Linked DNA regions of Homo sapiens: region 1 is linked to region 2. Evidence: promoter capture Hi-C in 16 types of primary human blood cells and fetal thymus (Javierre and others, 2016). All regions are on one chromosome and are shown on one strand. Each heading gives the region's core, a stretch centred on a gene start or on the middle of the fragment in contact. The rest is flanking DNA. Distances are from core to core; before and after follow the strand shown. Region 1 has its middle 25 kb from the start of ANP32E. Region 2 holds the start of OTUD7B (OTU deubiquitinase 7B).

Region 1 (2,934 bases), core at 270-2,769, 200 kb before region 2:
TTTTCAGAGAATATTTGCTTCACTTTTTCTTGTGCAACCAAAAGATGTCTTTGATCCTATGGAAGGAGAAGAGAATAATTAAATTTGAAATCTTGTATACACAATTTTTATTAAAATGTCAAAGGACAGTTACATGTTTCTATAGAATTAGCATATGTATATATATACGCTCTATCTATCTATCTATCTATCTATCTATCTATCTATCTATCTATCTATCTAGAGAGACAGGGTCTGTTACCCAGGGTGGAGTGCAGTGGCTATTCACAAGCACGATCCTGCTACTGATCCGCACGGGAGTTTTGACCTGCTCTATTTCTGACCTTGGCCAGTTTACCCCTCCCCTTAGGCAACCTCGTGGTCCCCTGTTCCTGGGAGGTCACCATATTGGTGCCGAACTTAGTGCGGACACGCGATCGGTATAGCACACTACAGCCCAGAACTCCTGGGCTCAAGCCGTCTCCTGCCTCAGCCTCCCAAGTAGCTGGGACTACAGGCACGGGACACCGCGCCTGGCAAAGTTAACAAATATTTAACTGCAGTAAAACTAATGTCAGTAGTTTCTCAGGCATTTTCATTGGCTTTTACAAAGTCACAAAATTGGGTAAAATGAGGGCCATTTACTTTATTTAAAAAAAAGAGGCCGAGCGCTGTGGCTCACGCCTGTAATCCCAACACTTTGGGACGCCGAGGCAGGTGGATCACAAGGTCAGGAGTTGGAGAGCAGCCTGGCCAATATGGTGAAACCTCGTCTCTACTAAAAAATACAAAAATTAGCCGGGCATGGTGGCACGTGCCTGTAATCCCAGCTACTCAGGAGGCTGAGGCAGGAGAATCGCTTGAACCTGGGAGGTGGAGCTTGCAGTGAGCCAAGATCGCGCCACTGCACTCTGGCCTGGGCAACAGAGTGAGACTCTGTCTCAAAAAAAGAAAAAAAAAAAAAAAAGAGATGAGAATATTCTTGGATTTTAAGAAGCCAAGATTTTCTAGTGGGTAATAGCATTTCTCAGAAAAGACTTTTTCTTTTAACAGACTAAATATTTAGGAAAACTTTTTTTCTTATATTGAGGGATTGTATTTTCAGCATTGTTTCGATGTTGCCGCAATATTTTAAAAAATACTTATTAGCAGGTGGAGATGATGTGAATTTGTTGTTTACAACCCGTAGGATATTGAAGAGCTACCTGCTGAGAGAGGAGCTGCTACCATCTGGTCTCTGCTATGAGGCCAAAGCACTACATTGGTCCCATGATAAACCTACTTTTCTTTTTGTGTCATTTATTTTCCTTTCCACTGCTATTCTATATCAGCCTTGAGGTTGCTATTGGAGTTGAGGGACAAATAAGAGGTCATATAATGTAGGCCATCGCATAATGATGAAACATCAATTCTGTGGTCTGTCTCTAAGGCTCTGTCCTTGATAATAAAATACAGTGTGCTGTAATGGTTATCAAGTTTCCACTCCATATTATTAGGTTATTAGCTATTAATTAGATATCACTTGCCATTTTTACTTTACATGACTGTAAATAACTGCTGTCTTTCAGATCTTCATGTACTCAATCTTTACAAGCGGTTTGCAATTAACATATTAAGAAAAAAACCATGGAGAATTATGTGCAAATCCTTTTCAAGGCAAGCAGTCTTACAGCTATGATCAAAGGCATAAAATGTAGAATATTTAACAAACTTTTAAAATCCTTTGTTTAAGGAACATAAGTGATAGGAAAACAAATATGAATGATACCAACTCTATCCCTTGAAAAACAGCCTAAACCCAAGATTATAAACCAAGAGCGAAATTGCAGGCAGAGAAATGGCTGAGCTGACAGCTTGTGCCCAGAAAGCTCAGAAGATGCCAAAACTTTGATTTGCTCACTTCAGTGAAGGCGTGATCCTTCATTTTGCAGGGCTATAGAAGGAGATGTATTTGAGTTTGTAAATACAAAATCGATCAATATGTGAGGGACAGACTTGTGCCGTGAAAATTCACCAAAGTCAGATTTCTAAATCAAGTTGTCAATTTATTAATTTACAGGGAGAATGTATATTTACATTGTTTATGGTATTATTGTTCAGTGTTCTAAATTGGCGCTCTTTAATAGACATATAATTCTGTCAAAAATGCAAGTTGGTGGAGTGCGGTGGCTCTCACCTATAATCCCAGCACTTTGGGAGGCCAAGGCGGGTGGATCACCTGAGGTCAGGAGTTGGAGACCAGCCTGGCCAACATGGTGAAACCCTGTCTCTACTAAAAACACAAAAATTAGCCAGGCATGGTGGTGGGTGTCTGTAATCCCAGTTACTCGGGAGGCTGAGGTAGGAGAATTGTTTGTGCCTGGGAGGCAGAGGCTGCAGTAAGCCAAGATCGAGCCACTCTACTCCAGCCTGGGTGACAGAATGAGACTCTGTCTCAAGAAATAAATAAATAAATAAAATAAAAATGCAAGTCACAGATGTATTTAGAATTTTCTAGTAGACATATTTAAAAAACTAAAAAGAAACAGGTAAAATTAATTTTAATGTATTTTAATTAACCCAACATATTCAAAATATTATACTTTCTACATGTAATCAATGTAAAAAATCATTAGTAAGATGTTTTGTATTTTTTTCATGCAAAGTCTTCCAAATCTGGGATGGATTTTATGCTTACAGCAAATCTCAATTCAGATAGCCACTTTTCTTTCTTTCTTTTTTTTTTTAACAGAGTTTTATTTTTATTTAGTTACTTTCTTCTTCTTTTTTTTCTTTTTATAAAGATAGGATCTCACCATGTTGCCCAGGCTGGTCTCAAACTCCTGGGCTCAAGTGATCCTCCCTCCTTGGCCTCCCAAAGTGCCTGGATTAGCCACATTTCAAGTGCAGTAGTCATGTTGCTAGGTGAAGGTCTCGTGTATCCCTTCTAGGAAAGGTAACTGAGAGGCCAAGTGC
Region 2 (2,783 bases), core at 143-2,642:
TTGAAGCCCACGCCAAATGACTTTACTTGTCAACCTCTATTGTATGTCTTGGATATGCCCCCATGCAAGGCACTCTGACTTGTTTGGCCTTAGCATGTGTGGACAGCCTTGGGCCCAGCCCTAAATTTTCGATTGTAAACCCAGGTGTATCCCTAAGAGATATAGCTGTCTAGGAAGTTTCCCTGTTTCAGGTGTCAGTTTCCTATTCTGAGCTAGACAATTCTAAAATGCCTATGCCCCACGCCTCCCCTTTAGAAACTGAGGAAGAAGTGAGGGGAAAGAAAAGTTGACTAGAGTATTTGTTTTTACATAGGCATAATGGGCACAATTAGGCAATACATTATTTTGAATATGCAGACCAGGTGCTATAATGTTAGGAATCTGAATTAAAATTTCAAATGTCTTTTGTTAGAGTATAGCCGGGGTTGGCATCGTTTTGTGTTTGTCATAAAGAGGTATTTACTAAATGGCCTTTCTTTCTTGAAACAGTCCACACAGGCCTAATACTTATTCATTCATTCAACAAATATGGAAGGTCTACTATGTGACAAGGATGGCTTATTATGTTCTCATAGCCATAGCTCATTGTCACTCAGGTAGGACACATACAAGTTCTGCTACATATAATATAGTTTTATGTATTTTACTAAATTGTAAAACCTTTGATGTCTGGGATTATGTCTTGTTAATTTTTGTATCCCCCTGTATCACTGAGAGCAGTGATACACATCACAGGGATACAATACATATTTGAATTATGCCATAATGTTTTAAAAGACATAACAAACGCACTAGAAGACATAACAAACGCACTATGTAAGTTTTTTTTACTGTTAGCAGTCTAAAGCAGATGTATCAACAGGGTATCACTGTTATGCAAGTAAATAAATATTAAGTGTTTACAGAGAAGGATATGTTCACTTCAAGAGTGAAGGAACAAGAGAAATATATAATTGGGTGGAGACTGGTGTGGAAGAAGCTAATCTTCCTCCGGTCACTCCAGAATGATTGTGTAGAGTTACTAGAATGTCAGTCTTTTCATTCTGAAGTATTTTCATCTCTCTCACCTTTCTACAACTACTCCACCCCTTTCAGCTCCTTCCCAACGGCTGTAGCCAACTGATTCTACCCCAGAGTCCTAAGAGTCCACCCTGTACTCCTCCAACTCCTGTTCAAGAATGCTCCAGACCAGGAGCTTTAGGGACTCGGGTCGGGAAAACACGGGGTCACGCGCGGGGCAAGCGCCAAACTGGCCGCAGCCTGGGGAGCGGCGCTAAAGGCGGGGCTGCGACGGGGCGGAGCGGGAGGAGGCCCGGGGGCGGCCTGGGTGTCACCACCAACCCGCTCCGGCCGGAAACTGGCGCCTGTTTCCGGCCGGACAGCAGAAAGCCACCGATCCTGAACCAGCCGCCGGAGCCGGAGTGGCGACCGGGTGCGGAGTGGGCAAAAAGCCACTGGGGGAGGCCAGTCCCGATCAGTCCTTTCTGGCTCCAGCTCCAGATCCCGTGCGGAGCAACAGCTGCGGTCGCAGTCTCCACCACCGCCTCCACCTCCATCGCCGTCGGGGGAGGGGCCGGCCGGACCCCGGGGTCACTGCCGAGGAATGAAGAGAGGCGGCCGGGCCCCGCGCTCCGCCCCGGCCTAGGGCCTTGCCCCGGGAGCCCGCGAGGGTAACGGAGCCCCCCGTCCTGACACCGTCCCCCGTCTGCTCCCGCCCCTCCCGGCTTCTCAGACTCGCAAACTCTGCTCCTCAGATCGCCACTGTCCCCTTTCTCCTTTCTGAATCTGTTTCACCCGAAGCCATCTCCCCTCGGCACTCCTTTCTCGCCCTGACTGCTCCTTGCTTCGTCCCGATCTTTCCTCCTCCCTTTCACCTGCGTCCTGCGTTCCTACCCCGCGCTCTCCAGCTCCCGGCCTCCCTTCCTGAGCTGTGCTGGCCAGTTTGGACGGTCCCCCCTTGTCAGCTAGACTTTCGGGAGGGATGGTGGAGTTTTAAGGTGATTAAGATGCAGTGTATTATCCCCACAGTAGGATAAAGTTCATTTAAAATCTCAATATAATACTAAAATGAAAAGCAAATAAGCTTATTCTTCCTATTGATAGCCAAACTAAGGTGCATACAGTAATGGAGGAAAGGCGAGAAAAAGGTGTGTGTGTGTGTTTGTGTGTGTGTGTGAGAGAGGGAGAGAGACGGAGGTTGACGGATTCTAGGGCAGTCTTAAGAACTTTAGAAAAAAGAAAAGTTGCCATGAGCCGATGGAAACTTTAGAAGCTGATGATGAGTAAGCCGGGGGCTGCGTGATCTCACTCTTCTCATAATTACTAGGTTAACGGTGTGGCTCCGGTCGGGATGGAATGGGATTTGTTTACTGGGCCGGCGTATTTTTAGCTTGTCGGCTCACAAGGACCAGCGCTCAGAGTCTCTTTCTCCCCGCTCGTGGTAGTCTTTCTTGTCTAACCTAGGTGGCTTCTCTGGGCACAATAAAGATGTAAAAATTTGAAATTAGAAACTGACTGGTGGAATTTTATGGAAGAAGTTCCCCACAAACTTTTCAGGCAGCTTTTCACGAATGCAAAGCCTAGAATTAGCAGGACGTTGACTTTTATTTTCCTTATCTTTTTATACGTACTACGTAACGCTTTGCTTAGAAATTCACATGCTGCTAATTTTTCAGTCTTTGGCCTCTAGTACTGTATATTTAGGAGATTTTTGAGGAGGCTGGATCCCTTTGTCTTTCAGAATCTATTTCAAAGGTGGAAAAGGACAGAGTAGAGAAAGAGGT

What was found. Contacts are between HindIII fragments. The CHiCAGO score rates a contact against its expected background, and 5 or more counts as called.
Region 1: a contact is called between a fragment that was not itself captured here and the fragment with the promoter of OTUD7B in region 2, in 6 of 17 cell types (M2 macrophages, M0 macrophages, monocytes and 3 more). The highest score is 6.0, in M2 macrophages.

Annotation. Positions count from the first base shown.
Region 1 is chr1:150,209,215-150,212,148 of GRCh38, reverse strand. It overlaps the pseudogene RN7SL480P. Among named protein-coding and RNA genes, the nearest start is that of ANP32E, 25 kb to the left of the region's middle. The HindIII fragment of the contact is 5,688 bases long and covers 1-2,934 here.
Region 2 is chr1:150,009,335-150,012,117 of GRCh38, reverse strand. OTUD7B (OTU deubiquitinase 7B) reads left to right here and starts at 1,392. Exons shown (of 12, transcript NM_020205.4): 1 at 1,392-1,670. RefSeq lists silencers at 1,231-1,280, 1,541-1,830 and enhancers at 2,351-2,400, 1,765-2,647. The HindIII fragment of the contact is 17,924 bases long and covers 1-2,085 here.